Linked DNA regions of Homo sapiens: all the other regions are linked to region 3. Evidence: promoter capture Hi-C in human tissues and cell types (Jung and others, 2019). All regions are on one chromosome and are shown on one strand. Each heading gives the region's core, a stretch centred on a gene start or on the middle of the fragment in contact. The rest is flanking DNA. Distances are from core to core; before and after follow the strand shown. Region 1 overlaps ESCO2 (establishment of sister chromatid cohesion N-acetyltransferase 2). Region 2 overlaps CCDC25 (coiled-coil domain containing 25). Region 3 holds the start of TRIM35 (tripartite motif containing 35). Region 4 holds the start of SCARA3 (scavenger receptor class A member 3). Region 5 has its middle 37 kb from the start of MIR6843.

Region 1 (5,627 bases), core at 2,086-4,585, 480 kb before region 3:
ATACATGTTTAGTTTTTTTTTTTTTTAAAGAGACGGAGTCTCACTCTGTGGCCCAGGCTGGATTGCAGTGGCACGATCTCGCTCACTGCAACCTCCACCTCCTGGGTTCAAGTGATTCTCCTGCCTCAACCTCCCAAGTAGCTGGGATTACAGGCATGCACCACCACGCCCAGCTAATTTTTGTATTTTTAGTAGAGGCGGGGGGTTTCAGCATGTTGGTCAGGCTGATCTCGAACCTGACCTCAGGTGATCCACCTGCCTTGGCCTCCCAAAGTGCTAGGATTACAGGTGTGAGCCACTGCGCCTGGCCTATGTTTAGTTTTTAAAGAAACTTCAAAACTTTTTCCAGAGTGGCTGTAATATTTTACATTCCTACTAACAAGGTGTGAGAGATCTGGTTTCCCCATATCCTCACTAGCATTTGGTATTGTCTCAATTCTTTACCTACTGTTACCCTTCTGACAGGTGTGTATTTAGTTTTTAATTACGAACAACACAACATTGTTTCTGACCTGAGAGTAGAAGAGAACAGTTAGTTAGCTACATCTTGCCTATTATCAGGACATAACAGTCTACTTCTTTGAGATCGAAGAAGGAAAAGGCCTCTTAAATAAATACACAACATAAAAAGATGTAAACTGTAAAATTAGTAATGTTGAAGGGAAAAAAAGTGCAGAGCTTTTGTAGGTGATATAAATTGTTATCAGCTTAAAATAGGCTGTTATATTATAGGATATTTTATGTAAGCCTCATGACCATAAAGCGAAAACCTATAGTAGATACATAAAAGATAAAGAAATCAAAGCACACCACTACAGAAAATCATCAAATCCCAAGGAAGACAGCAAGAGAGGAAGAAGGGAATATATATAAAACAACCAGAAAACAAAACAAAATGGCAATAGTAAATCCTTATTTATCAATAATTACTTTAAGTGTAAATAGAATATGTTTGCCAATCAAGACACACAGAGTGGCTAAATGGATAAAAACACAAGACTCAACTAAATATTGCCTACAAAAGACTCACATAGACTGAAAGTGAAGGGTCAGAAAAACGACTCCATGCAAATGGAAACCGAAAGAGAACAGGAAGTACCTACACTTACATCATACAAAATAGATTTTAAGTCAAAAACCATCAAGAGACAAAGAAGGTAATTATATAATAAAAGGGTCAATTCATTAAGATAAAACAGTTGTAAATACATATGCATCTAACATTGGAGCACCTAAATATATAAATATTTAGGATTCTGAAAGGAGAAATAGATAGGAATACAAAATTGTAGGGGACTTCAAGATCCTACTTTCAACAATGGATACATCGTCCAGACAGAAAATCAATAAGGAAATGAACTTTTTTTTTCTTTCTTAAGAGATAGGGTCTCACTATTGCCCTGAGCGGAGTGCACTGGTGCGATCATAGCACACTGCAGCTTCGAACTCCTGGGCTCAAGTAATCTTCCTGCCTCAGCCTCCTAGGTACCTGTGACTATAGGCATGCACTACCATGCCTGGCTAATTTTTGTAAAGACAGGGTCTCACTATGTTGCCCAGGCTGTTCTTGAACTCTTAGCCTCAAGCTATCCTCCTGCCTCAGCCTCCCAAAGTGTTGGGATTACAGGTGTGAGCCACTGAGTTCAGCCAGTAAACACTGAACTTACACTTCAGACCTAATGGACCTAACAGAAACACATATAGTATTCCATCCAATAGCAGCGGAATGAATGCACACTCTTTTCAAGTGCACACAGAACATTCATAGCAGTATAAAATTAGAGATCAATGACGGGAGGAAAAGTAGAAAACTGACAAATATGTGAAAATTAAACCACATGCTCCTGAACAACCAATGGATCAAAGAAATTAAAAGGGAAATTGACAAATTTCTTGAGACAAATGAAAATGGAAACACAACACACCAAAACCTATGGAATGCAGCAAAAGCAGTTCTACATAAAAAAAGAAGAAAGATCTCAAGTAGCCTAACGTTACACCTCAAATAATTAGAAAAAGAAGAATAAAGCCCAAAGTTAGTAGAAGGAAGAAAATAAAGATCAGTGGAGATAAATTAAACAGGGACTCAAAAAATAGAAAAGATTCGCAAAATGAAGAGTTGGTTTTTTGAAAGATAATTGACAAACCTTTAGCTAGACTAAGAAAAAAGAAGACTCAACTAAACAAAATCACAAATGAAAGAGGAGACATTACAACTGATTATCACAGAAGTACAAAGGATCGTAAGAGACTATGAATAATCATATATCAACAAATTAGGTAACCTATAAGAAATAAATTCCTAGAAGCATACAACCTACCTATACCAAATCATGAAGAAACAGAAAATCTAAACTAACCAATAAAAAGGAGATTCAATCAGTTTAAGAAAAAAAAAAAAACTTGCATCATAGGAAAGCCCATCTGTAATGACATCACTGCTAAATTCTACCAGATATTTAAAGAACTAATACTAATCCTCAAACTCTTCCAAAAAACTGAAGAATACCTCCAAAGTCATTTTGCAAGGCCAGATTAATCTGATACCAAAGCCAGAAAAGGACACTACAAGAGAAGTTACCAGCCAATATCCCTGATAAACAGATGCAAACTAGCACATTAAAAGCATAGTACACCATGATCCAGTGGACTTTATCCCTGGATGCAAGGATGGCTCAATACATGCACATCAATGTGTTACACCATATTAACAGAATGAAGAACAAAACTATATGATCATCTCAATACAGAAAAGGCATCCAACATCCTTTCATGATAAGAACTCTCAACAAATTAGGTACAGAAGGAATGTACCTCAATATACTAAAGGCCATATATCACAAGCCCACAACTAACATCATACTTAGCAATGAAAAGTGGAAATCTTTTCCTCTTAATCAGGAACAAGACAAGGATGCTAACTCTCATCATTTCTATTCTACATAGTTCTGGAATTCCTCGCCAGAGCAATTAGGAAGAAAAAAGAAAGGCATTCAAATTTAAAGGAAGAAGTTAAATCATCTGTTTGCAAATGACATGAACTTATGTACAGAAAACCCTAAAGCCTCCACCAAAAAAACTATTAGAATAAACAAATGCAGAAAAGGTGCAGGATACAAAATCAACATACAAAAGTCAGTAGTGTTTCTATACAGGAAAAACAAACTATGATCTATCTTAAAAAGAAGTCAAGAAGACAATCCACTTATAATAGCATAAAAAACCCCACTTATGAATACATTTAACCAAGGAGGTGAAAATCCATACACTGAAGACCAGAAAACACTGATGAAAGAAGATGAAGAATATCTACATAAATGGAAGGATATCCAGTGTTCATGGCTTGAAAGAATTAATATCGTTAAAATGTCCATACTACCCAAAGCAATCTACAAATGCAATGCAATCCCTATCAAAATTCTAATGGCATTTCCACAAAAATACAAAAAACAGTCCTAAAATCTTGTGGAACCATAAGAGATTCCAAACGGCCAAAGCAATCTAGACCAAAGAGTAAAGCTGAGGGGCACTGCACTCCTACTGGCATTAAAAAACACAGCAGCCAATGGAACAAAACAGATAAAATAAATCCAGGCATTTAGAGTCAACTGGTGTCTGACAAACATGCCAAGAACAAACAATGGGGCAAGGACACAGTCTCTTCAATAAATGGTGTCGGGAAAAATGAATATCCACAAACAGAAGAATAACATTGGAGACTTATCTCAAACCACATACAAAAATCAACTCAAAATGGATGAAAGACTTAAAATGAGGGACCTGAAACTGTAAAACTATAAGGAAAAAAATGAGAAAAAAGCTTGACATCGGTCTGGGCAATAATTTTTTGGCTATGACCCCAAAAATGTGGGCAATAAAAGAAGAAATAAATGTAACATCAAACTGAAAAGTTTCTGCATAGTACAGAGTGGATAAACACAAACTAACCAACCTACTGATTGGAAAAAAAATTTGTGTATACAATAGGGGATAATATCCAAAATATATAAATAACCCAATACCAAGAAAACAAATACTCTGATTAAAAAATGGGCAAAGAACCAGAATAGATATTTTTCAAAAGAAGACATACAAATCAGGAACAGACATATGAAAAAATGCTCATTCAACATTACTAATTCATCAAGGAAATGCAAATTAAAACAAGATCACCTCACGCCTGTTAGAATGATTACTATAAAAATGCAACTACCATATGCAGCAATCCCACTTCTGAGTGTATATCCAAAGGAACTGAAATCAGTATGTTGAAGAGAAATCTGTACTCTCATGTTCATGGCAGCATTATTCATAGCCAAGATATGTAATCAACGTTAAGTGTCCATCAATGGATGAATGAATAAAGAAAATGTGGTACATATACAGGTGGAATACTATTCAGCCTTTAAAAAGGAAATCCTGACATTTGCAACAACATGAATGAACCTGGAGGACATCATGCTAAGTGAAATCAGTCAAGCAAAAAAGAAAAATAGTGCAACATCTCACTTACATACTGAATCTAAAGAAGTTGACTTCATAGAAGCAGAGTAGAATGGTGGTTGCCAGAGGCTGGGGGAGTGAGAGATGGGAGAAATGGGGAAACGTTGGTAAAGGGTACAAAGTTTAAGTTCGCATGAGTAAGTTCTGCAGATCTATTGTATGGCATGACTGCAGCTAATGTATACTTGAAAATTGCTAAAGGCCGGGTGCGGTGGCTCATGCCTGTAATCCCAGCAATTTGGGAGGCTGAGGCAGGTGGATCAGGAGGTCAGGAGTTCAAGATCAGCCTGGACAACATAGTGAAACCCCGTCTCTACTAAAAATACAAAAATTAGCCAGGCATGGTGGCACGCGGCTGTAGTCCCAGCTACTTGGGAGGCTGAGGCAGGAGAATTGCCTGAACCCAGGAGGTGGAGGTTGTGGTGAGGCGAGATCGTGCCACTGCACTCCAGCCTGGGCAAAAGAGTGAGACTTGGTCTCAAAAAAAGAAAAAAAAAAAAAAAAACAAAGAAAAAGAAAATTGCAAGGAGAGTAGATTTAATGTTCTCATCACAATAAGTTGGTAAGTATGTGAGGTATAGCTATATTAGCTTGATTTAGTCATTTTACAATGTATACCTATATCAAAATATCACATGTACACTGTAAATATTTGCAATTTTTGTCAGTTATACCTTAATAAAGCTGAGGGGGAAGGAAAAGGCCAAACTGATCACTTATACTGGCAAAAATACAAAAAAGCTGCTTTTCTCTCCAACTTCTAATAACACAAGGAGAAACTACATGTCTTCTAGAACATTGCTAATTAGTACCTAAATTAGATTCTAATTAAGGGATAAGTAATGACTATTTTGCCAAAAATATTAACCTTCACTAAGCCACATGTTTAAAAATTTCAGTTTATAGATTTGTTTACTTAAAATCACTAGACTTTATAATCCAGCTGTGTTAATGACTACATGAACATAAAAGACTGGCTTACCTATCCTGTTTATACAAAGCAAAATTCCAAATATTAATGGAAATAAATAACTTCAATTATCCACTAGGTCAAGGATATTTCAGTAGGAAGAGTGTCATTAATGGTAGCAATCTTAAATGCTGAGACTTCTCCCAACTTTTCT
Region 2 (5,275 bases), core at 807-3,306, 420 kb before region 3:
CATGTCTTGGTACCTTGTGAAAGCAGGCTGCCCTTGTTCTTGAGATAGACTTTAAAATGAACCAGCTCTGAAAAGTACTTCTGCTGCTCTGGTCTATCCCTGAAAACAGATGTCTTGAAACACTTTTCATATTCTTAAAATAATCTTCACTTCTGTTAAGAAGAACATGTTGGTGGGTAATTATGCGAATGTTTCCCTGTCCCTGATTTCTCGATTAGGCGTATGGGTTTTGAAAAAGAGATTTTTCAGAAGATTGTCAGCTTCAGTATTCATGTTCCATCGTGTCATCTGGGTCTGTTAGTGTAGTGACCCTCAGTGCAGTCTGTCCCAGCGTTTACGTCCTTGCTTCCTCTGAGCAGAGGCCTCCATCTTAGTATCAACATATTTAAAGAAATTGATGGTGTTCATCAAGCTGGGGCCTGTGGCAGTTGTTGCCTGAGCACCAAGTAACCCAAGCCACCTATGTGACAACTTCTGGGCCCAGGAGTAATTTCTCAGCATTGAGGGTAAAATAGGATGGAGTGCTCTGTTGATCATTTGGGAGATGTAGGTTACCTGATTTGTGCCTTAGGATGCAGCGTGAAGCAGAAGTCCATATTGCAATTATGATTTTAGAAGGAACTAAGCATTTTACTCACACCCACAGCAGCAAGAATGACCTCCTGCAGCAGATATTCCACCTGTAATAGCACTTTGGAACTGTGGGCAAAACCAAAAGGCTAGTGTTTCCATTTATTCCATGTTGGTGTATGGGGTTGAACTGGAAAATTCCCTGAGGCAAAACTCACTGGCCAAATTTTGAGAGGGTATAGAAAATGACTTTAGAGATGAGTGGTTTTGTGTATGTGTCTGATGATATTCAGTCTGATGTTCCGCAATTTTAAAAGTTATAATAAAATACCATTTTTTTAATCTGGAAGGACATTGATATATGAATTCTTAGAATTTGCTATTAAAAAGGGTAGCCCCCATTCCACAAGCTGGTTTTGAGGGTGATCTTGCTCTAAAAAACCTCATTCATCATAGGCTCAGTCTGACAGGTTCTGTACGGGGCTATCATCTTTCTCCTCCTCTGCTAAATGCCTCTTTCTTCCAGCTGCTCACTGGGTCAAAGGGATGTCCTTTCTCAGATGTATTCTTGATACATCTCAGATGTATTCGTAGCTGTGCTCCTTCCATACTTCCAAGGAGTCCGGCTTCTACAGAATTCCTCTGTACCTCACACTGCAACACATGTAGATAGCGCTTTTGAAAAATACATATATTTTTACTATAGTATGAGAGGTCCTGGGGCTCAAACTTTAAACATTTCCTAACTCAGCTTACACTGGTTTAAAATGTCCAGGTCTCTGCTGAATTCTCTTGTTGAATTCATAGCTCTGTGTTGATTCCTATGCCCCTAACCCTGCAGCCTCTTTGTTTTATTTTTTTCCCCATCTCTGTTGGTCCCAGGGAAAGCAAGGAAATTTTCTTTTGAGGACTTATAGGTTGATTGCCCACAGGTCAAACTGTTGGCATTGAACTCCTCTCATTTCTTGCCATTGGATTGTTTCCTAAACGTTGGATAGGAGAATTCGAAATTGTTGCTATTTTTATGAGCTGTGCCCTTGATCAAATCTGTGCTGTGGGTCTGAGTCACTTTGCCAATGTCGTCTTCAGTTTCAACACTCTGATCAGCATGCAGGCGAGGGGCATGTTTAATTTACTTCACTAACTGCTATATTCTATAGCTTTAGACTTCATATTTCTTATCCACCTTTGTCTAGGCTCACGATCTTTGGGCAAGGGAGCTTTGTCACCGTGGTTGGGCTAGAACAAATATTGAGAAGTTTACCAACACAGATGTTGAGAAGTTTATTGAAAGGCACTGACATTAGCAGAATAAGTGATGGACATTAGTTGAACCCCTTCAGTGTCTATGTGTTTTATTGTATTGTCTTTAACTCGTTCTTGAAGCACAGATTTCAGCGAGCCTTTCAGCTATTCAGTGCCAGCGGTTTTCCCCACTCAGGAAAGATGGTGTGAGCCATACACACAGCAGGATTAGACGGGGAGAGTTTCAGCTGCAGCTTCTAGTTTAAGACCAAAGCCCTTCCTCCCGCTGCTGCATCTGTCTGAGAGGGGAAGCTCTTGTTTTCCAAGCTGGAACCGTTTATGAGGAAAACTGAGCAGGGTGGCAAAATGGAAAAGGAACAATTTTCTAGTTTTTCCTACGCGTGATATTGACGCGTGCTTTTTCTTTGATTTGAGGTACAGCATGTAAATAACAAATTTCCATATTCAAAATGATCATATTAGAGTGACTGAGTGACCTTTTGATTTTGAAGCAGACTAAAATCTGACCAGACCACAATGAAAAGTATAAAATTAGAAACTTAAATTCCAAGCTAAATTTCAGCTTTGACCCACCTAACTCCAGTGAATAGGTGGCAGCTCAGAAACAAGGACAGCACTGCTGCTGCCAGAGCAAGCTCACATCCAGCTGGCACTTCGTGAGAGCTCCTTCCTGCCGGGCACGTGTGAGTTCAGCGTGGGCAAGAGACTTTTATGCACATTCTGTCATTCAAAAGGGAAATGATGCCAACCCCAGATGCAGCATGTCCTGAATGAATGATCTGTAAAATACAATAATAAAAGCTTATAGTTTGAGTAGAACTGTGTGTGTGAGAGAGATTTCACTTCTTATTTTCTCCTGCAAGTTCCAGTCTCACTGATGGGATGTGCCTGCTTGTTTTAGGCAAGTGGGGAGACGGAGGTACTTGGCTCCCCATGTGATGATGCCTGCCCTTCACACAGTCACAGCAGGAGGAGAGGAGCAAATCCTAGTAAAGGGAAGGTCGCCCAAGAATTCCAGGAGGAGGATTGAAGAACCCAGAGCTGAAAGGCCACAATATTTGAACACTAGTACTTGGAGTTTACAGCTTGACCCTCTGCTCTCCCAAAATTCCTGGGGGTCTGCCTGAAATTTTGGCCAAGGCAAGCCTGCAAATGTGAAGACTTCCTGGGCGGTTTCATGGATGACTGTAGGGCTATGGGTTGTGTTCTGTTGATAGATTTTCACCTCTTTTATGATAGAGTTTACACTATTGTGAGAATGCTTGCAGGGAGGTTTTAGGCTCAGAGGAGCCACACAAACATACAAGTTTTTCTCCCAGCTGTAAAAGCATATTTGAATTCTTAAATGTTTACCAGAGCACATTTGGTTTGCATTTCTAGTCAGGGCAATACCTGCATCCATTGGTTTTAACTCCCTTAGCTGCTAGTGTTCTGGGGTTTAAATGTTTAAGTAAATTAGTCTATATAGGGAATGTAGTTTGAATCCAGAATTTTTATACAGAAAAATTTAGAGATGTGTGTATATACTAGGTGACTTAGCAGTGCAGTGAAAATACAAATACCTACCCAATGCCATCTTTTAACCTGGGTTTATCATTAGATTATACATACCTCTTTTTCTGTCTTAAATTGATTGCTTAGTTTTGTCTTTCTGATTTCATTATTGTGTCAATTTTTGGAGGGGCTGTGAGCTTTCTACCTTAGCGGTATGACTGTAGGTCTACACCATAGCCAGATGAAACAAGAAACTGGTCTCTGCCCTTGGCATGTGCTGAGTGGCACCGACCTGGCAAGGAATGGCGGCCAGAGGAAATCATTGCTCACTCTAGAAATCCATGTAGCTTTTCTAGTTCTCAAGCCTGGTGAGTGGGTGTCAATATTTAACGCTGAAAAAAAAACACAAGGAATTCTCCAAAGTCAGTGTTGTGTTTTGTTCCAACATCAATCCCATCTTGTAACCACTGCAGTGAAAATATAAGACAAATGGCCTGACATTTCACATCCTGCCTGGATGAGGCCTTAGCTGCCTGGGCTCCTGCTGGTGTTTTGGTTTCTGCATCAGCAGTTTGCTATCCATAGACAAGGCTAACATTTGCTTATGATTTCAGAAGAGAACCGGGATCTTTCAGGTGGTAAAGGCTGATCTGTCAGACTTGAAGCTTTTTGACCCTTGGTGAAGACACAATGCAGGGTCAGCAGATGAAAACCACAGACTGAAAAAGAGAAAATATTCGGGGTACCGTGCAGTGCCCTGGAACCAGCCTAGCCTTGCCAGAATCGTCTTCCACTGTGAAGCCCTGGTCTTCATGTAATGTCCCTTCCAAACTCTGAAGTTCATATTTTATTTTATGTACTCTGCATCAGTGAGGCTTACATAACATTTCAAAACTGGAATTGCTTTTAGGAGAGTCTTTGGAATCAGCTGGAAGGTCTGAAATAGACAAAGCTTAAATCTGGTTACCAAACAGCATTTTTTTTTTTTTTTTTTTTTTTGAGACAGAGTCTCGCTCTGTTGCCCAGGCTGGAGTGCAATGGCAAGATCTTGGCTCACTGCAACCTCCGTCTCCGAGGCAATTATCCTGCCTCAGCCTCTCAAGTAGCTGGGAATACAGGCGCGCACCATCACTCCTGGCTAATTTTTTTATTTTTAGTAGAGACGGGGTTTTGCCATGTTGGCCAGGCTGGTCTCGAACTCCTGACCTCAGGTGATCCACCTGCCTACATCAACAGCTGAGGCAGAAGAGTGCAGTGGCTCAATCCTATAATCCCAACACTGGGAGGCCGAGGCGGGAGGATTACTTGAACGCAGGAGTTCAAGACCAGCTTGGGCAAGATACTGAGACCCTCTCTCTACAAAATAATAATAATAATATAAAAATTAGCTAGGCATTCCTATAGTCCTAGCTACTCAGGAGGCCAAGGCAGGAGGATTGCTTGAGCCCAGGAGTTTGATTCTGCAGTGAGCTGTGATAGCACCACTGCACTCCAGCCTGGGGGACAGGGAGACCCTGTCTCTATTTAAAAAAAAAAAAAGAAAAAAAAGATAAAAGCGGGTAAACAAAACACACAAATCTCCCCTCATTTTAGCTGCTGCCTCCTCCCTGCAGGCCCTCTGTTAACGCCCCCAAAGCCCAGGAGGTCCTGGAGGAGTGGCCCCCCAGGATCTCCTGGGCTTTGGGATCAGGAAGAATTTTTCTTTTCCACAAAATAATTAATTTTTTAAAAATTTACAGGCATAGGTACTCATGGTGCAGAATCAAAAGGTATAAACGGGAATAGGGTGAAAGTGTTTCCAGTTCCCCTGCTTGGGGCCAATCAGCGTTACCTTTTTAAAAATCAAAGGCAGCCAGGGGCAGTGGACTCATGCCTGTAATCCCAGCACTTTGGGAGGCCAAGAGGGACAGATTGCTTAAGTCCAGGAATTCAAGACCAGCCTGGG
Region 3 (5,084 bases), core at 1,205-3,704:
AATAGTGGAGTATGACCTTCCGGGGGCATTCCACTGGAAAAGGGAAGAAAGCCTCAGATGGGCATGTGTACAAATTCCTAAGCACATGGTGCATGCTCACCTCCCAAGCATAGGGAGGGCACTGTGCATTCGGGCAGCTCACACTGAGGGAAGAATGAAGGGAGAGGGCAGCAAGACTCCAGAAGTGGGCCAGCATATGAAGTCCCAGGATCAGGGTTAAATGCCACACTTGTCCCTCAAGTTGCCCGCTTGGGTCTCTTCCAAGTGTACTTTCTTTTCTGTCCCAAACTTTTTAATAAACTTCCACTCTTGCTCTGAAACTTGCCTCAGTTGCTTTTTCTGCCTTATGCCCTGTATTAGTCCATTTTCACATTGCTATAAAGAACTGCCTTAGACTGACTGGGTAATTTATAAAGGAAAGAGGTTTAATTGACTCACAGTTCCGCATGGCTGGCGAGGCCTCAGAAAACTTACAATCACAGTGGAAGGTGAAGGTGAAGCAAGACACCTCCTTTGCAAGGCTGCAGGAAGGAGAATGAACACAGGAGGAATTACCAAACACTTATAAAACCATCAGATCTCGTGAGAACTCACTCACTATCAGGAGAACAGCATGGGGGGAAAACCACCCCTGTGATTCAATTACCTCCACCTGGTCTCTCCCTTGACACGTGGGAATTATGGGGATTACAATTCAAGATGAGATTTGGGGTGGGGACACAGCCAAACCATATCATGCCCCTCAGTCTAATTCTTTCTTCCAAGGAGGCAAGAATTGAGGTTGCTGCAGACCCATACAGATTCACTGCTGTTAACTCAGACACCTTCTACCCCTAACAGGTATGGGGTAGGACCCTCTCTGGAATCGGGCTCTTATGGCCTACAGTCAAACAAGGTAGGTCAGATAATTTCTTTATGGCCAGTTATTCCACAGAAAGGCAGAGAGAAAGAGTAATATTTTAAGGTTTCAAGACTGGCTTTAGGAAAAAGGGGTTCTGGTTTCTATGACCTGCCTTGGGGAAAAGGAATTCTAATTTCTATGGCTATCCTTGGGGGACTGAGAGATAGGAGGGCAGAGAAAAATTTCTGCTTTTGAGGCCATTTTGGGGTATTGTTTTCTGAGTTTCAACACTAACAAGTTTGCATGCCAAAATTTCATGAATACTGCTAAAAGATGAAACTCCTGGGTCAGAGACAAAGGATAATACTAACAGCAATAATAGTAGTCACAGTATTGTCATTGGGCCAGTTTCTGAGCCCTAATTCTTGCAAGACTATGTGATGAAGGCTACAGTAGGTTGCATTACAGGAGAGGGGCCCCAAGTTTAGGAAACTCACATCTCTTATAATTGGGAATAAGTCTGCCAGATCTTTGGAGAGACAAGAATTCTGTCTTCCAGGGCTATTCAATGCAGAAACATCCTTGAAAAGATAGTTGGAAAAAGGCAGTCAGTGCCTCTGCTCTCTCAAGACATGCAGGAACATGACACATGTGAATTGTCTCCCAATAGAAAAGGAATGAAAGTGCATCGTGTGAAAAGTATTCTGCATCTGGAGGCTGTAAAGTGATCAAACTGAAGCAGGAATGAAGATCTGAAGGAACCATCCAGGCCTACTGTACCTGGCAAGAATTGAGCATGAACTCTAGTTATCTCAGCTAAACTTTGCAGAAGTCCTCAATTTCACTGTTTTAATGGGCACTTGCCCATTAAAACAGTGGTTGTCATGAGCACTTTCCACATTTATTTCACTTTATCCTCACACTTCATGGAAACAGAGCTATTACAGCCATTGTACTCATGAGTAAATGGACTTTGAAACATGATGACCTGTTCACTTTTTCAACCACAGGACAAGAATCAGGTTTTCTCGGAGCTCTTCTGCCGCCACCCCTCTCTTGTTTCTCCTTACCGCGGCGGGCCAGAAGAAGACTGGCCAAAATAAGTAAACGACTAATGCAAGAGTGGCATAGGTCCTCAAAAAGGCGCTGCAAACTTAAGTGGTGATTGCACTCACGGTGCTTTAAGACCCAGCCACTACTTCGGAAGCAGGAAGTTGGCATCTCTGGTTTCTCCCATCCGCGGGCCTGAGGTTCCCGGGGATTGGTTAAGGTAGAGGCTCCTTTTCCCATTTGCAGCCGGAAGTAGGTTTCCAGTAACACGGAAGCCCTACTACGCCGCCTGGGAGACCCTTCCGTGCTACCCCGGCCAGGGACCCGCCCGGACCTGAGGAGGCGGGAACTGCGGGCAGAAGGCCCACCCCGCTCTCCCAAGATTTCCCGCGCACACCGGAAGTGGGTGGGGCTCCTCCGAGCGCCCCCTCCCTCCCCCTCGCCATCCCCCCCGCACGATTGGCCAGCGCCGCTGTCTCTCAGCGTTCCAGGGGAAGGGACTGGGCGATTCCCAGCACTCGGGTCGCGGGCGTTGGCAGCCGGGCGGGTGGGAGGGGCCGGAGCAAAAGTTCCGGGCGCCCGAGCCGGCTGCTCGTGCCATGGAGCGGAGTCCCGACGTGTCCCCCGGGCCTTCCCGCTCCTTCAAGGAGGAGTTGCTCTGCGCCGTCTGCTACGACCCCTTCCGCGACGCAGTCACTCTGCGCTGCGGCCACAACTTCTGCCGCGGGTGCGTGAGCCGCTGCTGGGAGGTGCAGGTGTCGCCCACCTGCCCAGTGTGCAAAGACCGCGCGTCACCCGCCGACCTGCGCACCAACCACACCCTCAACAACCTGGTGGAGAAGCTGCTGCGCGAGGAGGCCGAGGGCGCGCGCTGGACCAGCTACCGCTTCTCGCGTGTCTGCCGCCTGCACCGCGGACAGCTCAGCCTCTTCTGCCTCGAGGACAAGGAGCTGCTGTGCTGCTCCTGCCAGGCCGACCCCCGACACCAGGGGCACCGCGTGCAGCCGGTGAAGGACACTGCCCACGACTTTCGGGTAAGAGCAGCGATTTGCACGAGGCGGCCGAGCCGGGTCTGGAACCCGGAATCCCTTGGCTCTGCGGCTCCCGCCCCTCCTGCCTGCCAGAGCCCAGTGTGCCCGCGTCTCGCTCCCAGCATGCAGGACCCCACCTCTCCGACCCAGGTTCTCAGGGCTGGCTGCTTCTTCAAGGTCGGCCCAGGGGCCCGTGCTGGGAGAAGAGAATGCGAACGGAAAGTGACAGATGAGGTTACATGATGTTCCCAAGACAGCGACACTTGCTTCTGAAGGGCCCAGGCCATGCACCCCTTGTGCCAGCCGGGTGTGGCCCAGGTCCCTTTAAGCGGCACGGATGTGGGTGCAGCCCACGAGCCCTGTAGCTTGGCACACTCAATTTAGAAGTGGAGGAGGAGCCACAGACCTGGCCAGGGGTGTGGAGTCTTAAGATTTCCCCCAAACCAGTCACCTACTTGCCAAGCTGATCCCGCGGTTTGTATTATCTGAGTGAGAGGTCTCTGACCCTGGCTGGCTGGCCTATTCTGGTTTATAAAGCAGCATCTCCATATCTAGAGTTCTAGTGACTATACATAAACCCAGGAGCAACTTACAGGGCAAAACTAACATGGAGAATTCTTTGATATAGGAAGGAAAAATGAATAGAAGATAAGGGTTAGCCTAACTCAGCATTTTCCAAAACGTTTAATCTTAGCCCATAGGAAGCAATGCATTTTCCCTTGTGACCCAGAACATATGTATCAGTTGAAACAAAAGTTTTCTGAACATGTCCATGGCACTCTGATATTTTCTGTTACTTCCCTTTGTTTTTTTTTTTTTTTGAGACCTCTATCGCCCAGGTTAGAGTGCAGTGGCGTGCTCTTAGCTCACTGCAACCTCCGCCTCCTGGGTTCAAGCGATTCTGGTGCCTCAGCCTCCCGAGTAGCTGAGATTACAGGCATGTACCAACACGCCTGGCTAATTTTTTTTTTTTTTTAATTTCTAGTAGAGGCAGGGTTTCACCATGTTGGCCAGGCTGGTCTGGAACTCCTGGCCTCAAGTGATCTGCCCTCCTCTGCCTCCCAAACTACTGGGATTACAGGCGTGAGCCACTCCGCCTGGCCTCTGTTACTTTTAAAAATTACCCAGAATGTGAAACATTGAATTTATTTCATCACCTGCTAATGCATGAGTCAGAGCCCCAATTGGGAGAACACTGGGTAGCTGGCCCGAAGCTGCATGGACTGGAGAGGAGGAGCTGCCCGAGTCCCCTGTGCCTGGTTTCTGGCCCCCTCTGTGGCCCTGCCTTCTTTTTTTGCAATACCTTTTTAAATACGGAAGTCTGTTCCGCTCCAAATGCATTTGACAAAGTTTAATTGAAGGGGAATGTAAGGATGCTGTCAGTACGCATGTCTCAATGAGTAACCCTGTTACTCCTGTCATCTTTTTTGTTTAACATGGGTCCATGTCAATGCTTTTCCTGTTTCCACTGGCAGAAGTGACAGATCCTGATTTGGGACAGCTGGAATAAGTGCTGGCCAGCCAGGGGTCTGGGGCCCAGGTAAAGGAGGGATCATGGTTCAGGTCATGACTGATGCCTATTTGGCTGGCCGAGGTGCTGATCAGGAGATGCTGGGGTCAGGGCTGAGAACACCCAGGCAGAGCCCCCAGGCTGGGGCCAAGCCAGGATTCAAGAGCAGAGAGCCATGCACCAGCAGATGCCTGGTACTGCAAGGTCCCAGGGATACTGCAGGAGACAAGATAGACCATTTCCAGCCTCAAGGAGCTTCCAGCAGAGACCCGAGGGAAGAGGAGGTGTTAGCCAGGTGAAAGAGGGTATTTCAGATAGAGGCAGCAGCATTTGGAAGGGTCCAGAAGTGGGAAAGCCTGACTTTCTAGGCACTGAGGGAATTTAAGGGTAGTTAGAATGAGGAGGGACGTGCAGGAGGATCCAGGAGGCCGGTGGCTCACCCTTGCTGTGAACAGCAGCTGGGGGTTTTAGCAGAAGAATGATGGTGTCAAGTCAGTGGACACTCAGGATGATGTCAGGGGCTGAGTAGTCTAGTCCCAAATGGATCTGAGAAGAATGAGAGCCAGGTGTGGTCAGCCTGATGCAGGGTGCAAATCACTCATTTACTAGACAAATGGGTACTGATGGCTGTTGTGTGCTGTGGCCTCTTCTT
Region 4 (5,657 bases), core at 2,258-4,757, 320 kb before region 3:
CACTCTTACTGGAAGTGTGGAAACAACCCCACAGGTGGCTGCTAATGGCTTGGACAAGCCAGTGGGAAGCTCCAAGGTGGGCCTATCACCAAGGGGCTGGTGGCACCTGAGTGTCCCCTTAGGGCTGCGTGTGAGAGGGGCCAGGTGCCAGCTTGGATCAAAAGAGGCAGCGGCCTGGGAGGCCCTGTCAGCTGGCCGTGGGGCAGGAGGGGCCTCGGGTGGAAATGGCTTGGCTGGCAGAGTGGGCCCTGGCACTCGGCCACCGGTGGGCTGGGCAGCCCGACTAGCGTGTTTTCTTGATCACCTTCCCCACCATCACCGGTTCTCCATACAACATCACATCACATCACGTGTTTGTTTTGAGCAGGGCATGATCCTTTGCCAACAGATGTAATTCGAAGTTTGGTGTGGCCTCTGGAGGAGCACGGGAAGGGTTCTCTGGAAGGGGCTGCCTGCCCTACTCTGCCGGGCACTTTACTTTTTCCACTCGAGTGAGAAAAATCCTGGTTCTTTACACCCCACAGATCCCGGAAGCCAATTATTTGCTGTCTGCCCTGCCATTTCCATCTCTGGTAGAGGGGCGGCTCTTCCCGGCTGCCAGGGAGGGAAGTGCTGGAAGTCAGCCCCCAGCCCCGCAGCCCATGCAGCCCCTGTGATGTTATGGGAGATCACTGAGGGGTTTCCGGAGGCTGGAGGAAAAACACACCAGCGCCGCCCTCAGGGCCTCCGTAGACAGGAATCCCGCTCGGCACATGAAGAGGCTGTGGGATCCAAGGGAAAGGAGGAGAGAGGCAGGGCTTGGCTTCCTGTATAGGAACCCACAGCACAAGGAGAGCCTGGAACCCTGCAACGTGGTGTCAGCGGGTCCTCCTCAGGCACCTCTTTTTAAATATTCATTCACACCAGCTCTTTTCTTCTCTATTTCACAGGATTTTGGCCCTGCCTCTTTTTTTAAATAAATTCTATTTTTTTAGAGACAGGGTCTCACTCTGTTGCCCAGGCTGGAATGCAGTGGTGCAATCATGGCTCATTACACTTCAAACTCCCAGGCTCAAGCGATCCTCCCTCCTCGGGCTCCGGAGTAGCTAGAATTACAGGTATCTGCCACCACACCCTGCTGGTGCTTGTCTGGAATTGGGGTGGAGCCACTCTGAGAATGTGAAACATCTCACCACCATCATCAAGGTCCAGGGCAGTGTGGCCCCGTGTAAGATGTGGTCCAAGACCTTTCTGGAGGCTTCCAGTAATGGTCTGCCCTGGGCCAGCTGACTGCAGAGGGTTCAGCTGCAAAGGTGTCTCAGTGAGGAGCAGGACTTGGGGCGAGGCTCCCCTCACTGCCTGCCAGGTGCTCCCTAGGGCTGATTATAACTTGCTTGGCTCATCCCGCAGAGCCTAGGACTTGGGGAGGCCAACGGGAAGCACAGAAAGAAGGTGCCAGAGGCAGAGGGAAGGAAGCCACAAAGAGGCAAGGTGGATTCTAGACTAGAAGTCAGGAGTCCTGGGGTCTAGTCACCCTGACTAACTGTGATTTGTAACAACTCACTTCTGTCCACAGGACCAGCTACATAATTTGTGGGGCCCAGTGTAAAAGGAAAGTGTGTGTGTTTGTGTGTTGGTGGGAGGGGATGACTTGTTAAAAAATTATAAGAATTTCAGGCCTCATGGTGGATCAAGGCTGTAATCCCAGCACTTTAGGAGGCTGAGGTGGGAGGATCGTTTGAGGCCAGGAGTTATAGACCAACCTGGGCAATATAATAAGGCCCCATATCTATCAAAAAAAAAAAAAATCCATGCATGGTGGTGCACACCTGTAGTCCTAGTAGTACCAGCTACATGAGAGGCTGAAGTGGGAGGATCACTTGAGCCCAGAAGTTTGAGGCTGCAGTGAGCTATGATCATGCCATTGCACTCCAGCATGGGCAACAGATTGAGTCCCTATCTCTAAAATAAAACAAAATAAAATACATTTTTAAAAAGTTCAAGATAGCACCTGCAGAGCATTAAACCAAGTGTGGGACCTTGTAGGATGGCACTGGTTGCAGAAGCCATGAAGCCAGCCCTACCTGCTTGGGCCTCAGTTTCCCTAACTATGCAATGCGGAGGCTGCATCCAGTCAGAAGTTTGTCGGTGGAGCCCTTTCTTCCAATGAACCCTCAGGCCATTCTTTGTATGAGAGACAAACAGAGCTGCTCTGGTTGAAGTAGGCTGAGAGCTCTGGCCCCACCTCTTCCACCTCCATACCTGTCAGTGGCACCTGAGAGTGTGGTTGAGAGCCCTGTAGATGATCTCAAAGGCCCTTTTCAGTTTCTACTTTCCATAAGCAGATGAGGTGGTGAGGTTCTCACTGCTAGGAACACAAGCATCTGCTGGGGGTGTTACAGGAGGATTACTGAAAGACACCCGAAATGGCGTTCAAAACCTCGGAGGTTCCCTGCCTCATGAGATAACTCCAAAGCCTGCTTCTCCTGTAGCCTCAAAATGACCTTGAAGACCAAGTAGGGGCCTAAAGACACCCAGGCCCTGGAAATGGCCACTTGGGATCATGTCTGGTTCTTATTTCCATCCCAAGAACTGGCTGCAAGGGCCACCCTGCTGCTGGCTCACCACCCTGGGGAGAGGTCAGTCCTGGCCCATGGGGCTTCCCCGGCGGCTTCCTCCCAAGGAGGTCAGAGGGTGGGTCAGGCAGGGTTCAGGGGTTGGGAAGGGCAGGGCCTGGGCTGAGGGGCTCTGACACTGCAGGTCTCTTTTGGGGAAGGGCTGGAGGTCCTGGGGGAGAATCCTAGGCCTGGCCCCCGGTTGAAAGGCTCGGTGGGGGATGCAGGGGCCTCTCTGATGGGTCCCCAGGGTCGAAATTTACACTGCTGGAAAGTTGGGCTGGTGATGCCTTTCTGCGTCTACTGGTTAAAGGGATCAGAAACTTCTCTGGATTTTAAAATTATTTGTGAGGTTAGAGCAACGGCCGATGAGAACAGGACTGCAAGGGGGGGTGTGTGAGTGTCCCCATCCTCCCTCTCCTCTTTGCTTCCTCTGGTCTTCAGGGATCCGTCCTGTCTCGCAGGATGCCCAAAAAGGCAGGGGAAAAGCCAGAGGCGCCCTGCCCTCCTCTCAGCCTCGCCTGCAGAAAAGGCGCCCCCCAGGCCCTGGGTGGAGCGGGGGTGCAGGCGGCCCCCCTCGGAGCTGCCCCCGACAGGCCGCCCTTACCTTTCATGGTCTCTTCCTCTGGGGCCTCAGGAGGGCCCCGCTGCAGGCGGCTGGAGCTGTAGTGGAGCCGGGCGGCCGGCGGATCCTCCAGGGCGCGGATCGCCGTCCTAGGCGCCGCCCGCGGCCGTGGGGCTCCGGCCGGGACTCATGCTCCGGCGCGCGGGCTGCGGAGGCGGCGGGAGGAGTGGAGGGTCCCGCGGGGTCGCAGCCTGGGGAAGCCCCGCCGGGCGCCTAGCGCCGCGCCCCGCCGCCCAGAGCGCGCATCCCGCCGCCGCCCGCGCTTCCCGCTGGGGCCCCGCGAGGTCTGCCGCCGCCCCTCGCCCCGCGCACCCTTCCTCCCTCCCTCCTTCCCGCCTTCTCCTCTCCCTCTCCCTCCTTTCCTCCCTCGCTCGCAAGCCTCCCTCCCTCCTCGTCACTTCTTGGGCCCCGGCCCAGATCAACTTCCTTGGTATTTTCAAAACTGCCGCGGCCGGCCTCTTTGTGCCGCCGCGGGGGCCCCGCGCCCCGCCTACCTCGCCCGTGCGCCCCCGCAGCCCCACAGCCCAGCCTCGAACCCGGGCTCCCGCGGCGTCCTCCCTGCCCGCGCTGCGGCCGCAATGGGGGGGCTCACCGGGAGAGCTCCTTGATCTTAGTCCATTTCACTATCGGGACCGCCAAGTGGCTGGGGCAGGGGTGGGGACCCCAGATTTTAGCCCTGCACGTTTTTCTCGCCCATCTTATGATGTCGAGGGCCTGGGAGAAGGACGTCCGGGAGAAGGACGTCCGCACATTTTAGTACTGAAAGTCCCGTGTCCAGGGCAGACGTGGAAGGTTGGCCACCCTGTGAGCACCCTGGCTCTGCCCCTGGCGAGCTGAGTGACTTTGGGCATCCAGTTCTCATCTCCAAGCCTCTTCTTTCTACATGAGAGAATTGGGCCTGGAGTGCGCCACATTCTGTGATTTATTTTTCATTTTTATTTTTTTGAGGCTCTAGCCATCTAAGCTGGAGTGCAGTGGTGCAATCTCCGCTCACTGCAACCTCCGCCTCCTGGGTTCAAATGATTCTCCTGCCTCAGCCTCCCGAGTAGCTGGGATTACAGGTATGCACCATCCCGTCCGGTAATTTTTTTTTGTATTTTTAGTAGAGACTAAAAATGTTGGGGAGGCTGGTCTGGAACTCCCGACCTCAGGTGGTCCACCCACCTCAGCCTCCCAAAGTGCTGGGATTATAGGCCTGAGCCACTGCACCTGGCCATCAAATTCTGTGATTTTGTTGGTGGAGGGGTCTCTGGGGTAAACAGTGACAGCCAAGGAAAGTGAATGCAGGCAGGGAGTTGAGACTGGTCATAAGCGCCACTCAGGATTCTCACGTGTCATTTTTCATTGATTGAACAAACATTTACCGAGCTCCCAGCTGCCGGCCAGGTCTAGGTCCGCTGTCCAATCTGCCCACCCTGCAAGCTGCCCCTGCAGGTAATCAATCAGGTGACACGGGTTTTAGAAAAGAGAAAAAAGACTTATTGGCAAGGGCACCAAGAGAGGAGGTGGGAGAACAGCTCTCAAATCCACCTCCCAGAAGATCAGGCTTAAGGATATTTATGGGTTAGGGAAGTAGAGTGGTCTAAGCCATGGGGAAAGGCAATTGGCAGTGGGGACAAATGAAGAAACAGGTTCATTCCATGCCAATGTAGTCTGAGCTAATGGTATTTCATAGGACATATATGCAGAAAATGGCAGGGTTAGCATGATCCAAGGGTGGAGTTTTTTGGCTCTCCGACATTGAAAGCCCACCTCTTGGGGCACTTGCCCAGTTGAAGGGCCAATGGTCTCACCAGTTTGAGATGGACAGGAGCTAGCCCAAGTTCCTAAAAAACAACTGAAGAGATCATTACCATGGTGGCCTATGAATGTTACCTATAAAGTAGTGAATGAAGGTTAAGTTTCAGTGTTCAGTGGTGTAGCCTTCAGCTTCATGGAAAAAAGAAAACAAAAACAAAAACAAAAACAAAAAAAACTCACCAGAAAAACAAAAAGCAAGCAAGCAACCAAAAGCAAACAGGGCAGCCAGACTATACCAAAATGGTTTCGCTACAAGGGACCAGGCTCTGCCCCAAGCTCCAGAAGTGTGAGGAACATGTCACATGGCCAGTCTGGTTAGGAAAGCCAGTAATTAAACAAGCAGCAGTGCAGAAGTGGGATGAATGTTATGAGAAGAAAAGTGCAGGGAGAAACGGGACCACAAAGTGGCACAGGCCAGCCTGGTCTCTTCTGATGCCACAGTCAGCACCATCTCCCCATCCCCAAGCCCTATTTAATGCTGAAGTAAAGTAGGTGAGACCCGAGGGGAAGAGAAAGTGTCTCCTAAGCCTGGAGTAGAGAAGAGGACAAGGACAGCCACCCCTGTCTGTAGATCCCATCAGATCAGCAAGGGTGATGCTGTGTTCTCTCTAATCTCCATTTTGCCATGGCAAATTTAC
Region 5 (5,139 bases), core at 2,579-5,078, 260 kb before region 3:
CTGACAGATAGTGGGTCCTTAATAAAATGAACAGGAGAGTCTTGCTGTGTTAGAGCTAATCACTGCACACATCCACATAATATCACAAAGCAAATCATGCCTCCCTGAAACCCAGCAATCTGTTACAGGACAAGGGTGGAGCCCAAGTATAGATTTGGGGTTTGTCAGGCAGCTATGGGGTTGGAGAAGAGCACTGGTCTTGGAATAACTTCTAGAATCAACTCTAGGATCCCAGCAGTAACTGTAAGGGCGCCCCTTTCTCAGCTGCGGTTCCCGAGAGGCATGTCCAGCTTCCTACTTGGGTGGTTCCATCATGTGATAAGCACTTAGGGCTAGATTAGGTACAGTGCCCTCCACGGCCCCTGACCTAGCACCAAGTGGTTACTAAGGCCTATCCCACTGTGAATTCAACACCCTCTCATCGGGGTTCACAAACTGTCTTGTCTGGGGAAGGGCATTCTCTGGGCTCATGGAGTCCCTGGATCTGACTTGTATCTCCTGGGAACACCATCAAGGGAGATTCCTAGAGGAATGAGCCAACAATGCTGGCATGTCCCCAGCTCCAGTCCTACTTCTGGGGTTGGGGGCGGGGTGATTCAGGCAGCCAGCTACACTCGCTGCATCATGTCATGGTTTGGGTGGCATAAAGGTTGACAATGATTTCTAAAATCCCCGTCTTCTAGCTGTGATTCCATACTGACCAGACCACCAAGAATTGTTAATGCTGAGAATCTGTCATGAAAAGCCACAAGGCAGCCTCGATCTCAGCACCACCTTCACAAAACTGAACTAGACGTCTGTCTTTACCCCACTGCCCTGCATCTTGAAGCATGAATCCCAGCTCTCTCTGGGGTCTGAGAATGATCCCTTTCCTTAACAGGGCTTTGAGCAGCACTCACAGTCATACTGAGATGCATTTAATAGACTCAGTACTGGGGAACGTGGACCACAGACAGCATGGGTGGGAGTGTATGGGGAAAGTCCCAGAAAAGGATGGATTTTTACTCAATTCTTGATCAACTGATCATTGAGTCATCTTAGATTGAGAGTACTTAGTGGACCCTGGGGAGCTAAAACTGCCTCAGACAAGACTTCCACCCCCAAGAAACTGACCATCCAGCAGGAAGAGGGAGGGACAAATGCCAGGAGGAGGTGACAACATTCATGAGCAAAATGGGCGTGACCAGCACATCCAGCCAGGAAAGTCCAGCATTGACTCTGATCCTAGAATCCACACAACCCCACAGAGCCTGGGCCCGGTGTCCGGCATTATCTCCCGAAAGAGTCAGAGGTAGAACTGCGGGTTTCTCTCTCTGAGGCTGTCTGTAAAGGGCAGTGAGACAAAGGATCTCTGTGCAGTCTTCCCTCTCAGCCTGACCAGAGTCCCAGGAGGACAGCGGAGCTCTCATCCACCACATGGGTGAGGAATCCAGGTCCCAGAGAGGCTGGTGGACTTGTGCAGAGTGACAGCAGGTTGGTGGGGACCAGATGGTCTGACTCTGGAGATGCGATCCCCCCTGCCTCGACTGCTACACTGAGGGGTCAACCCTCCTGATGGGTCTCCTGGGGCGCTTCCAGAACTTAGGGTGGAAGATCCACTGTAGTGATTCTATAGACATGTGTTAGATGGAAGGAAGGAAATGGGAAAGGAAAGGAAGGGAATATAAGGGAAGGAGAAATGGCTGAAGAGCTGAATCTTCAACCCTAATTACATGCACAGGAAGCAATCACCATGCCTCCTCGTCCAGGCGTCTGTGCGCCTCACAACTTCCTCCCGTGACTCAGGACCCACCTGCCTGGAGAGCTTGACTGTCAAGAGAGCATTAGGAGATATACCTAATGCTAAATGACAAGTTAATGGGTGCAGCACACCAACATGGCACATGTATACATATGTAACAAACCTGCACGTTGTGCACATGTACCCTAAAACTTAAAGTATAATAATAATAATAATAATAATAATAACAATAATAATAATAATAAAAAGAGAGCAGCTCTATGCTAAACAGAGGACCTGGGGCTGGGGAGCTGTATGCATCCCAGAGCAGCCCCTAGATAAGCCCACATAGGAATTTTCTGATTCCTGACTTAGAAATCTATCCTTCCCGCTCCTTTATGGAGTTGTTTCCTTTGCGGGAGCAAGGCCTGTGCTGTGTTTGTCCATCTTCAGCTTAGCTCTCCCTACTCCCGCCCCTACCCCACCCTGGTGCATCCCAAGCACTCTCAGCTTCTCACAGATGCCCTTTACAGGCTGCTCTGAGTGGCAAGCAAAAGGCAATTAACTACAGAGCTATTTATTGCACACACCCCTTGCAGTGAATCACAGGGCTGAAACTGCCACCCACCCTTGGTGGCAGTCCTTGTTTATGGCCTGCCAATGGAGGTGGGGGGTGGTGGTGACAGAAACTAAGGATGGCCTCTAAGACTGGTGCTGGGTCTGCAAAGCAGGGTATGGCAGCAGCTGCCACTTCAGGGCAGGGAAGAGAATCCATCCAGAGTGCACTGAAGCACAGATGAGTGAGCAGGAGAGCAAAGTCCTGCTCCATAAGCCCCCTGGGATGAACTGGGGTCACCAGTGGGGACTGCAGCAACATTCCCAACAGGGTTCACGTCCTCCTCAGGGATAGCCCAAGAACTTTCACCAGATCCTTGAAGGAAGAGAAACAGTAATGCAAGAGATGGCCTTATCTCTAGGGTGGAGCAATAAGGTTGGGGGGACAGTTTTGCATCCAAGTGCTGTGCTGGCTTATGGAATGTCAGAGCTGAAAGTGACCGCAGGGAATTAACCAATCCAATCTCACTGTTAAAAGACATAGAAACTGAGTCCCCAAAAGTTGGAGGAACTTGATCAAGGTCACACAGAGTCAGCAGAACAGCAGGGCTTGGGCACCTGCCTCCCTTCCCAGAGTCCTTGCCGTTGCACCTTGCTGAGAGTTTTTGGTTGTGCAATTGTGTGTGGGTGCACACATGCATGCAATTGTGTATTTTGTCTTCTTGGGGGGGGAGATTATAATTGCTATTTCTCATGCATCACAGCCTTCTAAAGTTAAATAAATTGGAAATTTTGGGAAGGTAATCTATTGCCTAAGAGTCACTTTGAGTTTTCAAGGATGTCATGTTTAAGTGAGAAGCCTCCATGTTGAGATGACCTGGAGGCCACAATCTTGAGCTCCGAACACAGAAAGGTCAGTTGTGTGTGTGTGTGTGTGTGTGTGCGCGTGCGCGCGCATGGCAGCCCAAGCTTAGGCTCTGACAGAAACAGGACTTAGCTGTAATCAATCTCAGCCCATCTCAGCCAGGTCAAAGAGAGGGCGGAGAGAGGGTGGGCAGGTACCAGGAGACCGTCCATCTTCCACCCACCTCTAATATCCTAGCAGGAGAGAGGGGGCCAAAGCCAATCCTCTGGCAAAAAGAAGCATCCCTTTATCTCTGGGTCAAAACATTCAGCTTAAAGATTAATAAATTCTGATCTGAGTGTGAAGTAGAAAAGTTGATTCTATAACTAGGCAGGGTTTTGGCACCTTTCTTGTTGAAAGAGGTCCTGCCACCCATCTTTTCCTGGCTTGTGATGGTCATTCACCCCTCACCCTGCCCAATGCCCCACTCCAGCTGTTCTCACAGAGAGAGGTCAGCAATGGCTGTGAATAATCAGCTCCGGGTGTGGGTCCCTGATTCCCTGCAGCATTGACGCCTCCATCCTGGGCACCCAGCACCATTGCTTCCAGAGCACCGCCCTCCTATGGTCCTCAGTCTTCTCTCACCATCCCCTTTGTTTCCTTCATGGCAGCCTCTGCGTCCTCTCACCCGTGGAATGCTCCTGTCCTCGAAGGCCCTCTTGTCACCCAAACCCATTCTCCCTGGGTGTCCCCTCCACTCTTGCGGTCACTTGTCTTGGAGCTGATGACCCTTGTTATGGCCTGAACTGTGCCTCCTCCAAAGTCCTACGTTGAGTTCCTAACCCCTGGCACCTCAGAATGTGACTGTCTTTGGAGACTGTGTCTTTAAAGAGGTGATTAGGGTTCAGTGAGGTCATATGAAGGGGCCCTAATCCAATGTGACTGGTGTCCTTATAGGAACAGGAGATTAGGAACATAGGCACACAGAGAGATGACCATGTGAGGACACAGGAAGAAAGTGGCCATGTGCAAGCCAAGGAGAGAGGCTCAGGAGAAACCAACCCTGCCAGCACCTTCACCTTGAACTTCTTACCTCCAGAACCACAAGGGAATAAATATCTGCTGTTGAAGCTGCCCAGCCTGTGGTATTTGCTATGGCCTCTCTAGCTGGTGAATATGACATCTCAATCTGTACCTCCAGCCCCTGAGTTCCTGAACTTCAAAGCAGCTGCTCCGACACTTCCGCTTGAGACCCCTCGAACTCAAGTTCCCAAAGGAAACAATCACCTTGTTGCCCCTGCCGAGCCTCCTGGATTCTCTACTGATGGTGGCCCCATCATCCTTGACTCTTCCTTCCTGCCACCTCACCACACACTCAGCTGCCGAGTCCTGTTGGTTCCTCATCCTAAATACCTCTTGAACATGGACCCTGAGAAAATGGACTTGGCTCTGTATTCCAGCCCCTAGGATCCTCTCCAGGCCATGCTCACTCTGCCCAGCCTCGTCCACACCTCCTTCCCATGTTCCGGACTTGAGGCATGGTCTTTGCCTCGGCCGTCTCTGCCAGGCTTGAATTATTTCTTTAGCTCCTGGGTAGGCCCTCTGCACTGGATACTGCCTTCAACTTCAAGCCCCAAGGGCAGGCTGGCTCCTCTGCTGGTCCTGGAGGCCCAGCTCTAAGGCTGAAGTTCCTTCACGAGTCCACGCGCAGAGCTTAACCTCAGTGCACAGACCAAGACGGGCTGCTCTGGGACCCCTCGCTGCATGCTATTTCCATAATTCCCTGTATGTTAGAAACCGTTTAACTGAGAAAGGCTGGTGTACTTGGTTCAGAGACAGCAGGAATGAGCCAAGCAAAAGACCTATTATCACTTCTGCAGCCAGTCCAGTCCAGGCCAGAAGGACCCTGAAGGGCAGAGATGACGGCAGGAGCTGCTGAGGGGGAGAGATGCAGGCTGTCCTGGAGGGGACTGTTGAGGAGAAGAAAGGGTCACTGGGCTGCCCAGCACAGGCCTGACAA

Evidence for each region. The method cuts DNA at HindIII sites, captures the fragments that hold promoters and counts their contacts. A contact is called where the count stands out against the background at its distance.
Region 1: a fragment that was not itself captured here is called in contact with the fragment with the promoter of TRIM35 in region 3 in 2 of the 25 tissues and cell types used here (bladder and dorsolateral prefrontal cortex).
Region 2: a fragment that was not itself captured here is called in contact with the fragment with the promoter of TRIM35 in region 3 in 1 of the 25 tissues and cell types used here (adrenal gland).
Region 4: the fragment with the promoter of SCARA3 here is called in contact with the fragment with the promoter of TRIM35 in region 3 in 3 of the 25 tissues and cell types used here (liver, neural progenitor cells and thymus).
Region 5: a contact is called between a fragment that was not itself captured here and the fragment with the promoter of TRIM35 in region 3, in 3 of the 25 tissues and cell types used here (aorta, lymphoblastoid cells and spleen).

The regions. Positions count from the first base shown.
Region 1 is chr8:27,792,861-27,798,487 of GRCh38, reverse strand. All of the region lies in intron 9 of ESCO2 (establishment of sister chromatid cohesion N-acetyltransferase 2), which reads right to left. Among named protein-coding and RNA genes, the nearest start is that of ESCO2, 21 kb to the right of the region's middle. The HindIII fragment of the contact is 5,983 bases long and covers 344-5,627 here.
Region 2 is chr8:27,730,696-27,735,970 of GRCh38, reverse strand. It overlaps CCDC25 (coiled-coil domain containing 25), which reads left to right. Exons shown (of 9, transcript NM_018246.3): 9 at 1-2,655. It also overlaps a transcript of SCARA3 not described here. Among named protein-coding and RNA genes, the nearest start is that of MIR3622B, 32 kb to the right of the region's middle. The HindIII fragment of the contact is 4,166 bases long and covers 1-4,139 here.
Region 3 is chr8:27,308,642-27,313,725 of GRCh38, reverse strand. It overlaps TRIM35 (tripartite motif containing 35), which reads left to right and starts at 2,454. Exons shown (of 6, transcript NM_171982.5): 1 at 2,454-2,925. The coding sequence starts at 2,491. It also overlaps a transcript of PTK2B not described here. RefSeq lists a silencer at 2,236-2,445 and enhancers at 2,596-2,745, 2,756-2,975, 3,376-3,485. The HindIII fragment of the contact is 16,679 bases long and covers 1-5,084 here.
Region 4 is chr8:27,631,752-27,637,408 of GRCh38, reverse strand. It overlaps SCARA3 (scavenger receptor class A member 3), which reads right to left and starts at 3,507. Exons shown (of 6, transcript NM_016240.3): 1 at 3,202-3,507. The coding sequence starts at 3,208. RefSeq lists enhancers at 2,215-3,043, 3,044-3,873. The HindIII fragment of the contact is 21,622 bases long and covers 1-5,657 here.
Region 5 is chr8:27,571,669-27,576,807 of GRCh38, reverse strand. No RefSeq gene overlaps it. Among named protein-coding and RNA genes, the nearest start is that of MIR6843, 37 kb to the left of the region's middle. The HindIII fragment of the contact is 5,720 bases long and covers 969-5,139 here.